Linked DNA regions of Homo sapiens: region 2 is linked to region 1. Evidence: promoter capture Hi-C in 16 types of primary human blood cells and fetal thymus (Javierre and others, 2016). All regions are on one chromosome and are shown on one strand. The core of a region is centred on a gene start or on the middle of the fragment in contact, and the rest is flanking DNA. Distances in the headings are between cores, read along the strand shown.

Region 1 (6,091 bases), core at 2,782-5,281:
CAGTCAGCTGTCTTGGAAAACACTCCTAGCAGCCTCACCCCAAAGACTGTGCCTCCTGGTCAAGACAAAAGCAAGCAAGCAACAGCAGCAACAAAACTAGGCTGACTGCATCTGAGTTTCAGGGGACCACAAACACAGGCCTTGGTTCGATATGGAATCTGAATGCGCTTGCCACTGGAGGATGAACAGCAGGCCCAGGCCTGCGGTGGGCAGAGCTGAGAAACAGCCTCTGTCCTGCGCTTTGCAAATGCCCCCTCATCCGCCTAACCCCACCCCTCAGCCGACCCCCTGCACCCTCTCTCCAGGCACTGGGCAGCACCCCTCCTCCTAGAAAGAATGGAAACTCACCAGGAGATGTGAGTTCCCGGCAATAGCTTCACCTGAGATGATGGGGGAAAGGGGCTCTCTAGCCCGTAGGACAGTATCTTGCAGTGTTCTGACTGACACTAAAGCTAACTAACAGTCTCTAAAGGAATGATCCCCCACGGCCATGAGAAAGCCAAGGAGAGGCTCCAGGCGGGCACTCCAGCCTCTCTTGTTCCCACCATAAGAAGAGGAAAGAGAAGGGGAAAAGGAGACTCTCATAACTTTTAAATTGCATTCACGGAGCCCTTGCTAGAAAGATCTCCCCAAAAGGAGCCAGGGGCTTGCGGTCCCCTGCCTGGGTGGTGGTGTGTCCGGAATTGGTAGGTTCTTGGTCTCACTGACTTCAAGAATGAAGCCGCGGACCCTCGCGGTGAGTGTTACAGCTCTTAAGGTGGCGCATCTGGAGTTGTTCGTTCCTCCCAGTGGGCTCGTGGTCTCACTGGGCTCAGAAGTGAAGCTGCAGATCTTCGCGGTGAGTGTTACAGATCATAAAAGCAGCGTGGACCCAAAGAGTGAGCAGCAGCAAGAGCGAAAGAACAAAGCCTCCACAGTGTGGAAAGAGACCCAAACGGGTTGCCGATGCTGGTTTAGGCAGCCTGCTTTTATTCTCTTATCTGGCCCACCCACATCCTGCTGATTGGTAGAGCCGAGTGGCCTGTTTTGTCAGGGCGCTGATTGGTGCGTTTACAATCCCTGAGCTACATACAAAGGTTCTCCACGTCCCCATCAGATTAGTTAGATACAGAGTTTCCACACACAGGTTCTCCAAGGCCCCACCAGAGCAGCTAGATACAGAGTGTCGATTGGTGCACTCACAAACCTTGAGCTAAACACAGGGTGCTGATTGGTGTATTTACAATCCCTGAGCTAGATATAAAGACTCTCCACGTCCCCACCAGACTCAGGAGCCCAGCTGGCTTCACCTAGTGGATCCCGCACCGGGGCTGCAGGTGGAGCTGCCTGCCAGTCCTGCGCCGTGCGCGCGCATTCCTCAGCCCTTGGGTGGTCGATGGGACTGAGCGCTGTGGAGCGGGGGGTGGCGCTCGTCGGGGAGGCTCGGGCCGCACAGGAGCCCATGGAGTGGATGGGAGGCTCAGGCATGGCGGGCTGCAGGTCCCGAGCCCTGCCCCGCGGGAAGGCACCTAAGGCCCAGCGAGAAATCGAGCGCAGCGCCAGTGGGCCAGCACTGCTGGGGGACTCAGTACACCCTCCGCAGCCACTGGCCCGGGTGCTAAGTCCCCCATTGCCGGGGGCCAGCAGGGCTGGCTGGCTGCTCGGAGTGCGGGCCCGCCAAGCCCACGCCCACCCGGAACTCCAGCTGGCCCGCAAGCGCCGCACGCAGCCCCAGTTCCCGCTCGCACCTCTCCCTCCACACCTCCCTGAAAGCTGAGGGAGTGGGCTCCAGCCTTGGCCAGCCCAGAAAGTGGCTCCCACAGTGCAGTGGGGGGCTGAAAGGCTCCTCAAATGCCGCCAGTGGTCATTGACGGCTCAGGCACAGGCAAATCTGGTCTGGGCTTGGAACCGCGGTAGTGACAGGCACTGTGCGTGTCTTACGGGGCCGGCACAGTTGAAATCGTCATCACATGCGCTCGCTAACTCTGCAACAACCCTAAGAGTTAGGGATGCTACTATACTCTCCATTTCACAAAGGGAATCTAAGGTCCTAGCAAGAGTAAATCACGCCCATTATCACACGGTAGGAAATGCCAAATTAATAAGCACCTCAATTATCCAGTTCCTAGGGCCACTTTGTCTCCTTGCTCAACCGCCATAAAGTCAGAGTTTTGCAGCAGATAAGCAAGACCCCTACCATGGCAGCCACTGCCTAGCCAAGAGCCCTGCACAGAGGGGGAGCCCAATTTATGTGGATGAATCACCCTGAGATGGACTCAGGCAACCGCATTGAGGATAGCAGGGTCCGCACAGGGAGAGGCAAAGTCCCTGTCTACCGTCACTCAGCAGGGCTGTCACCCACAGGAGCAGAACAGGGCACCGCCTGCCCTCACATTCTGGAAGGCGATTAAATGCAGAGCGTGGCTGTTATTGCCAAATGAGGTAAAAACAGAGCTGAAGCATCCACCCACAGGAAAAAAGCAAGGATAATGCACCGTTAACCTGGGTCCTGCTACTGGGTCACCACCCCTAAATAAATACAGTCTGTGGTGATCAAATGATAATTACATCTTGTAATCTAATGCTATCACTTTTTGTGTTAAAAGCACTTAATTGCTCAGAGTAAATATTTTAAATGATTGGACTTTGTTAGCTCCTCATTTTGAGTCTCTTTCATCCCCAAAATATGTGTTCCTTCAGCTCCTGAGAGGACCTCCCCTGGAATTACTACAAGGGAAGCCCAAAGAAAGCTGGGGTTTTGTTTGTTTGTTTGTATGTTTTGAGATGGAATCTCGTCCTGTCACCCAGGCTGGAGTGCAGTGGTACGATCTCGACTCACCGCAACCTCCATCTCCCAGGTTCAAGCGATTCTCCTGCCTCAGCCTCCCGAGTAGCCGGGACTACAGGCGCCCGCCACCACACCCAACTAATTTTTGTATTTTTAGTAGAGACAGGGTTTCAACATGTTGGCCAGGATGGTCTTGATCTCTTGACCTCATGATCCACCCACCTTGGCCTCCCAAAGTGCCAGGATTACAGACAGGAGCCACCGTGCCTGGCCACCGGATTCTTTTTATTACAGACTTAAACTGGACACTGGGCTGTGACCATCAGCAGTGTAATGTGAACCTGGCCTCATCTATGCTCGGATAAAGCACCAAAGAGAACCCTGTGGAAGAAACCTCTGCGCTCCCCTCCCAGGACTAGCACCTCCCGGCTTCCTGCACACCAAGTGGAGGTGAAGATAAAGAAAGAGTCACAGAGAAGAAATAAAACACGTAGCCAGCAAAACACTCCTTTAGATGATGAGAGAGCAGATGCAGGAAGGGGCTCTACCAAGCTTCCTATGTCGTACATAATTTCCAGCTCCTAACATATTTGCAAAGCTTATTACAATAAAACACTCATGTCTGCAAGAGGCATAAAGAGATATTTCACGTCACCCCTCTACTTCTTTGTTCCAGTGAGACTCTCTCTGTGCAAGTACAAGTCATGATAACACAATACATATTTTAATGCAACAAGCCACTGCACTTGGTATCATTATAATAACTGGAAAAATTATATGTGTATTTCTTCATAGCATGTTTTCGTTCCTTTCTCAAAACAAGTCAAAGGCCCCTTTATCAAAGCACACATGATAGGAACTTGAAATGCAGCTTCCATCTAGGGCACACAGGGCCAATAAGCTTTGGACCCAGTTTCTTGCCAAAGCACCTGCAGCTCCCACACCCCTGCCTGGGCCTGGGGTGCTCTGTGCCCCATGCCTGCTCCCCAGGACTCACAGGTGGGCCAGACCGGCCTTGCGCACAGCCGAGGAGATGGCTTTGATGGCCGTCAGCATTGAGTTCAGCAGCTGGGTGAGCTCCCCAGTCCCTTTGGCCTGACGCCCCTTTTCCATAACGTAGCGGGTCAGGGTGAGCATGTCGGTTTCGAAGGGGCTTCTGTCCGTCATTTTGGCTGGAATGCTTCAAATCCTTTTCTCCCGGCAGGAAACCTTGCTTACTTCTGAGGGCTGCAGCTCCGCAGTGTGGAAGCCGATAAGAAATCTGTGCTGGCCCTGCCAGGATCTCTAAGGAAAAGGGCCCAAAACACATGACTCAAACAACTGCTGGGGCCCTCAAGGAACTCCCTCTGGCCTCGGGGACTGTGGCAGCTGCCAGGGAGCCGCAGCAGTCTGTAAATAGGACGGGCTGCCCAGAAACATGGAGCTGCTTTCTCCTGCTGAGCACCCCCTTTCAAGATACCAAGAAGCCACCATTTAGGCACAGGTGGGAGGTGAGAAATCCAGTTGATTAAAAAATGATGCATAAAACCCTCTTATTCCAGGCTCCAAAGGATTCTTCACATATAGTGACTGCAGGGCCTGGCTCTCCCGAGGGCGGAGGTGGCAGATTCGCAGGTTCCTTATCTGGGACGTAGGTCACATAGTAACATAATGGCAACCCCAGAATTCCTTTAGCCAGGGTTTGGAATAAGTTAGGAAAGAATGCTTTTTATTTCCAGTAGGCATGTATGACCAGTGGATATCCACAGTAGAGATCCAGATCCGGAAGAAAACTATTATATTCCTAGCACAGTTCCTGGCACCAGTGTTATTTTGTCAATATCTCTGGATGTCCACTTTTGTAACAAAAATTGCTTGTTAAAAAGGAAACACTAAAGAAGTGGATAAAGACAAACCTCCTCACCACCAGCCCATTCTCCCATCCCACTCTCCAGAAATCACTGCTGCTAGGGCTGGTGGCGGTCTGTGCAGCCAGTAGGCACTGGTGGGGTGCATATGGTGGTGGAAGCACTTTCTCTAGGGCCAGCCAGACCTGGCTGTGAGTCCCAAGCTAGCTATCTGTTGGTTGCATGATTTGAGAAAGTTATTAAACCCCTTGGAACCTCAGTTGTCTCACTCTTAAATGAGCATAACCGTGAAGCATCCATCTTATAGAGTGGCTGCAATGAGATGTACCTAGTATAGTAGGTGCTCAGTACTTTGTTACCTATTATTGCCCTTCCAGTTTTTTTTTTTTTTTTTTTTTTTTTTTTTGAGATGGAGTCTCACTCTGTCGCCCAGGCTGGAGTGCAGTGGCGTGATCTCGGCTCACTGCAAGCTCCGCCTTCCAGGTTCACGCTATTCTCCTGCCTCAGCCTCCCGAGTAGCTGGGACTACAGGCGCCTGCCACGACGCTTGGCTAATTTTTTGTATTTTTAGTAGAGACGGGGTTTCACCGTGTTAGCCAGGATGGTCTCGATTTCCTGACCTCGTGATCCGCCCGCCTCGGCCTCCCAAAGTGCTGGGATTACAGGCGTGAGCCATCACGCCCAGCCGCCCTTCCAGTCTTTCAATGTGCTCACAACTATTGTGCAATCATACATAATCTCATTTCACAAAACAGTACAACATGCACATTTCTCTGAAGGTCTTTTCCCCTGACAGTTATGTCGATTAGAATGTGTTCAGCTGCAAGAAATAGAACAACTAGAGCAATTTACACGTGGGGGTTTATTTCCTCATAGACCAGGAGTGCACTAGGAGGTGGTGGCTGGTGTTCATTCAGCTGTTCTTGGTTCCACTGGGACCCCTCTCTGTCTCGTCTCTGTCATCCTTGGTCGGCTGGATTGTGCCCCTTGCTTGGCATCCTGGGGGCACAAAATGTCACTGCAGTTCTGAACATCTGGCCCACGTTGAAGATGCAAAGAGGGGAGCAAGGGCAGCTCCAACCACATCAGTTCCTTTTTATTAAGAAAGAACAGTTTCCCTGGAACCCATCCTCCCACCCCCGTAGACGTCCCTGTGCACAGCGTCTGCCAGATCAGGGTCGTGTGGTGATGCCTGCAGTGGGAGCTGGGCGCTGGCATTGGATCAACCAAACTGGTTGAGGAGGGCAACCAAATGGTTGAGATGGGCATTGGTGCTCACAATTTATGTGGAAACTTTCAGATAAAACTAACATCTACCAGTAGATCTTAATATGCAGGTTTAAGATCCCAAATATATATATATGTTATTTATATATGTTTTTAGTTCCAGAAAGCAAATATTATGGGAAGATGTCCAAGTCAGCACACAGAGGCTTGGATCATTCCAGCTTGCGGACATTCAGATAATTTAGGTAAG
Region 2 (6,117 bases), core at 452-2,951, 540 kb after region 1:
AGTCAGAGTGCATTTGATATGACTAGCTTTGGGAAACACTGTTCACAGGCCCCCGTCGGCAAGAAAAAAGGAGGCGCTCTGCTCCGGCCGTGCCCTGGATCACACTGAGGCAGGACCGCGCCTCCTCGCGGCCTCCCCGATGACATTGAGCCCGCGCCATCTAGCGTCCACTGGTCAGCACTGCTGGACCCGCCGGGCTCCAGGCAGGAGCTCTGCCACTTTTTCAGGACAGGATAAATCTCCTTTTAATTATTTCAAGATTTCTAATTTGCAAGTTAAAATGTCCTACTCTTTAAATAATCTATGCTCCCTCATCCTTCACTGATGTGCATTTTTATCTAAAAGGAACCAACTTGATATTCTTACAGATAAATTCATTATCTATGCAAGAAAATAATTTGGCAGGACCACCGTTCAAGAGAGGAGAGGCAGGTTATTTCGTGGCTTCGAACTTAGGCATGTCAGTTAATCTCCTGATGCCCAGTCTCACTGTAAATAATAAAAGTTATTAAGAGGTCACCGGATATAAGCACGGAAAATATAAAAGTTTCTATGTATTCATAATGAAAAAATAAAACAAGGGAAAAGCAACCGTATGTCTTGAAGAAATGTGATTCATCTAAGTTTGCCAGAGCAATTTTCAAAGTTTGTACAACAACATGCCTATTGAATAAGAGTGTTTAAGATCAAATAGCACTGTTATGTGCCCACAGGCAGACAGATAAGAGCTTGGAAATGCGTTGATAGAAAGTAAGATGAAACTTGAAAATGGTAAAATTAAATTTCTTTTTTCTAAATGGTCAAACTATCCCAGAGCCATTCTATAGGTTTGATGCTAGTAGAGAATCATTCAATACTAATTATAGGGATTTCCAAACAGCAAAGAAAATGATGATCAGATGTAGATTAGGGCTACTATGAAAACCACTGGGGGAGCAAGGAAGACAGCTCTTACTCAGTTTGTTAGAAGAGAGTGAGAGCTTAGATCTGCTCCTCTTCTGTGCGCTGTTTTCTAGCAAAATCGCTCAATCCAATGTTTTAAATGCCTGCTGGCTGTGTGGAATCTGCTTGTTCTTCCCCATACAGATGGACTCTCCTCTTAGATTTCTTTCTTTCCAAATATTTCAGACCCTTGGCTACTCTCAGCCTGCTTCCACAACCCATTTTAGCTTTTAAAACAGGTAAGAGGCCAGGAGGCAGGGGAACCTGCAGAAACAGCAACGGCAGAGATTTTGATTTGAAAACCAGTCTCCTTTTTTTTTTTTTTGAGACAGGGTCTCATTCTGTTGCCAGGCTGGAGTGCAGTGGTGATCTTGGCTCACTGCAACCTCCAACTCCTGGGTTCAAAAGATTCTCCTGCCTTAGCCTCCTGAGTAGCTGGGATTACAGGCACGTGCCACCACACCTGGCTAATTTTTGTATTTTTAGTAGAGATGGGGTTTCACCGTGTTGGCCAGGATGGTCTCGATCTCCTGACCTCACTGAAAAAAAAGAAAACCAGTCTCCCTTGCTACCCCTACAGCTGTGAACTGCTCCTTCTCATCTGCACCCCTCACCGATGGCTTTTAAAATGACACTCTTTATACTTTTTGAGCACATAATTTCAGGGTCAGTGAGTCCCCTCATGAGGACTAGAGTACTACAGGTCAGGCATATGTCCCAGCGACATCAAATCACAAAAGCAATCTTAAGCTGCTTTTCTTATCAAGATAATCTTCCAAATAGAATTAAGGTTTTAATACACGCTTCTTTGGAAGCCGTATCTTCCCCCCTAAATCTCTGTAGCATCTTCATGAGTGATGACGCAGGCATCTAACCTCTGATCCTGTTTTATTTGTAAGGTGGGGCACTCCGGTAACACACCAGAGGTCACGCTGCAAGCCAGGGCTCTGAAGCCCCATGACTGCGGCCATTATCTTTTCTATAAAAGCGGGGAAATAAAATAAACCTTTTGTGGTTTCCATCTGTTTGTTTTTCTCCATCCTACCAAAATCTGTTCCTTCTCAAGCTCTCTCTTCTCCATCTGGCCTAACAATTTCCACAGGCAGATCATTTCAACTCGAGGGGAGCTATGTCAGCAGGAGGTCTTCAATAACATGAGTCTTGTCCTTCCCTCCTTATCTCCCCCCTCAGGCTTTTCACTGAATGCCCAGGATGACTAGGGAGCGAAGATGGAGAGCTCTGGGTTCTGCCCTCCCTCTTGTATAGACCCGATTGTTCTGCTGGGTGTGCATCCCCTTGGGCTAACAAGAGCTTTCCCTCTGATCTCCCCTCATGGCTACCCAGAATTGCATTGTTTATCTCCCCTCCACCTAGAAAGAAAGCCCATCTTCATCCCTCAAAACACAAGGGAAGACAAAGTCAACATGGAATCAACACACAATAACCATGGTCTCAGTGCCTGTTTTGGAAGAGAGGCAAGGGAGAGGCCAACTTGTCACTCTGCACCATGAACTGTGCAAATTACACAGGCTCTTGTGCCCGGTCCTTGATGTTTACTTAAGCTGTTATTTTCATACCAACTCACCAATGATTATTACAAGCCACTTGCCACTTGAAAGAGGCCTGAGAACAAGAAGAACAGAATTCTCAGGAAGAAGCATTTCTTTCTGTCATTTGCTGATTCTGTGTGTGTGTGTGTGTGAGAGAGAGAGAGAGAGAGAGAGAATAGGGAAAAGGAGAGGGACAGAAAACAAACCAAAAAGGGAAATTATACTATGATTTAAGGTAACTCACAGACAAAAGCAAATCCCTTTTAGAAAAAATAAAAAGGCAGTGAAGGAACAGAAAAAATTATCAAGTGCTTTCCATCTATCACCTTTCATAGATATATTCGCCTTAAAAATAAAGAAGGAAATAGCAGATGACAGAGAAGCTGAAGTTCATTAAGCCTGGAATAGATTCTTTCCTGGTATTTTCATGTACTTGCATGTAGCTTAAATATTTACTTAGGAAATGGGTCATTTAAAGAATCAGCTGATGGGCAGCTTCCCCTCCAGTTTACCCAGCAGCCGGACAATCCCGTCCCACCGTGTAGCTGTTTCCGAGCCACTGTTCTCTCCACAGTGGGAAGCCCTTGTTGTTAATATGTGCATATTCACTACAAAATACCTTTCTTCTTAAAAAGAAGATTCTCCATAAGAGTCATTTCACCAGTGAACTCCTCTATTGAAGTGAAAAATGATTTGGCTTGAGAAAAACCTATTTATACAAAACCTTCACATCTATCATGTACAATGAGGCACCTTTATAAATATGTATTTTTTATTATGCCATTTGCTTCTTTTCTATTTTCAAAATACTAAACATAAGACTCTAAATATCCCTTTTACATTTTCAGATCTATTTTGTTTTAAAACATTCAGGTTCCTTTTAACAAATTTGAGCTCGGAAAAATTATTCTTTCTTTTTAATCTTTACCAGATGTTGTTTATACACAAACAATTTTTTCAGTACTCCATAATGCAATTATTGTTTAATTAGTGATAAATCTGTCATTCCTGGGCTTAAGAACTTAACAAGTACCAAATGTACTTTTGCGTCTTAAATTTACATGTGCTCTTCTCTGTGTTTGGACACAGAGGATCCCCAGCACCCCCTCCCCTGCCTGAAGTCCTTCTAGCCTTGCCCAGTGGCCTCTATCCAATTAGCCCGGGTAGCCCAAGCTGGAAGAAAGCTCCTCAGCCCCCTGCTGCTTCACAGCTCAGCCTGAGTGGCAATGACCCCTACGTCCACCCCTGCTTTGTTTTTGGGTTTTTCCCTCTCTCCCTTCATCTCTGGCCACAAGGTCTGCATCCCCAACTGCAATTCCATTGCAAGGAAACTCGCAACGTGGGCCTCTTTCTTCACAGAGACTATGCTGGAGGATCTGGTGCCCCCCTGAGGCTAATTCTGGAAAGTGCAACTCCAGTCCAAGATGCAGAACCTCCCAGCTTTTAGCCATACACATCAGCCAGCACTACTGGACTACTGCTAAATTATCTACTTCAGCTCTTGTTCAATTACATGCACCACATTAAAGAGCTCAAAAGGAAGTGCCGAAAAGACTGAAAAAGCAGGAAAAGAAAACCCTGGCATGTTAGTGAAAAGCTACTTAAGCACAGCAAACTGACAATATCACCCAGGATGTAGAGTGAACTCTTCAGCACAATATTTTACCAAGGAGGAGCTGCATACTGGGAGTCTGTGTAAAGGAAGTTTCTTTTTCTTTCTGAAGTGCTACAATTGCTACCTGGAGAATGAGGGAAAAAAACACAACCTATCCCATATTGAGGAGGATACTGAGGTATCTAGATGCTTTTTATTCTTAAGTTCTTATTAGATAAAGTAATCTTTTGAATTAAGCCATAAAGATTTTTAGGTAGGAGAGAAAATGAAGCATATTCTGATATCAAATCTTAGCAGAAACAACTCTGCCTCCTGGGCGCCTCCTCTGCTCCTTTCTTTTGGGGACAAGTCTGCCTGGGAAGGTGAGGCTAGCTCCTCTGGACCCAGCTGCGGGCGGGCTCTGCCAGCAAATGGGAGGGCATGAGAATCGGGTACCTTCCGGCCCTGGCATGCAGCTTGCCAGCCAAGCACAGTGCCACCCTGACACCCTGCAGACACTTTTCATTCCAATGTGGAATCCAAAGAATAGCTTTCTGGGCTCCACAAACAAAATTGTAACTGGAAAACATAACATCCTTCTAATTTGGGGCCAGCCTTGGGAAACCGAACAATGCCAAGAAGGCTGCATAATTAACAAGTGGCTTTCACTGCTGTCGGTGACATCGGTTTTTAAGGTCAGGTCTGAAGCTATGGATTATGGTCTTCCCGTGCCCATGCTGTCAAGGAAAACACAAGACCATCTGCTTTTGAAAAGTTTCAGTCTGTACAGTAAATGACAATCTAGGGCTAATACCTCACTTGATGTAGGAGCTACCAACCGTGGCAGACAGCATGACTCGACAGCAGTCCAGTCCACCGCACGGAAGCCAAAGGGGAAGCCTCAAAAGTGAACGGGTTTTGAAAACTTTTCTTTTATTTTAGATGTTAAATACATACATAGTCATTTGGAACTCAGGTAATAAGAGACTAATCCCTCATTATTCATGGTCTTAATGGAAAATATCAGACCTGCGAGTCCAAGAGGCCAAAGAACATTTGGGAAGGTCATTTCACTTTGTACAACCTGTACCACACTTTTATCTTTTGTTTTTGTTACATTTTGGTAACTATAGAATTTCCAGGACTCATTCTGCATAGTCCCAAGAGAGAGAAATATAATTAACAGTGCTCTATATAAAACACAAGTTATGTAGACCATCACACTTTAATTACTCTCAGAATCCAACTCTAATGTAATAGGCATCAGGTTTCCTCTGGAGCACAGCGCAGCAGTCTCGTGCTATCTGAGTCTTAGAGATCTCTCTGATACTTCTGTACAGTCCTGTCACTGCACCAAGATACTGCACTGCGATAAATGAATCAGATGATGCAATTAGGAAGCAGGCTCTTCAGGTTACCCCTGCAATCACTTAGCCACGTCACAGGCCTATTGCGGCCTGCCTGGCTTTCTGGCACTGCAGGCCCAGGATGCTGAGGAGAACAGCCCACACCAATCAGGGGCTTCCAGCCATCGTCTGTATTGTAATTACGTCCTTGAACCATGAGGCACAGAGAGGTCACATCCTGCCAATGCCACAATAAATTAAACCAAATAACACCCTCTAGAATCCCCCTTTAGCCATAATGGAAGCTCTGAATTTCTGCACACATGATCCCGATAAAAGCTTTTGTAAGTCAACTGACTTCAAAGCTGTGTGACTCGTGGGAGATTACTGTAAACTACAAACTGGAGACTGAGCATTATACAGTTATGTGCAATGGGACGGCCTGCGTTCTCTGTCTTGCATCTGCTGTGCTCACCACAGTGCTGCTCAGGCATGAGGGCCACAGGCAAAAAGGACATGGAGAAGGTTCAGGGAAGAATCCAAGGATTAAGGAAAGGCTGGAAAAAAGGCAATGGGACTAGAATTTTTCAATAGGGAGAAGACTTAAGGAAAATGTCATAAGCACCCTGGAAGCAAGCATATAGCCCAGTTACTATCATTTTGCCACTGAAAAGGGACCAGAGAA

Evidence for each region. The method cuts DNA at HindIII sites, captures the fragments that hold promoters and counts their contacts. A CHiCAGO score of 5 or more calls a contact.
Region 2: a contact is called between a fragment that was not itself captured here and the fragment with the promoter of FBP2 in region 1, in 1 of 17 cell types (M2 macrophages). The highest score is 5.9, in M2 macrophages.

What each region holds. Positions count from the first base shown.
Region 1 is chr9:94,589,793-94,595,883 of GRCh38, forward strand. FBP2 (fructose-bisphosphatase 2) reads right to left here and starts at 4,032. Exons shown (of 7, transcript NM_003837.4): 1 at 3,765-4,032. The coding sequence starts at 3,934. RefSeq lists an enhancer at 1,499-2,041. The HindIII fragment of the contact is 4,350 bases long and covers 3,667-6,091 here.
Region 2 is chr9:95,127,657-95,133,773 of GRCh38, forward strand. The region is part of intron 8 of FANCC (FA complementation group C); the gene reads right to left. It also overlaps a transcript of AOPEP not described here. Among named protein-coding and RNA genes, the nearest start is that of MIR3074, 45 kb to the left of the region's middle. RefSeq lists silencers at 2,271-2,565, 3,711-4,005 and an enhancer at 4,525-5,027. The HindIII fragment of the contact is 8,135 bases long and covers 1-5,769 here.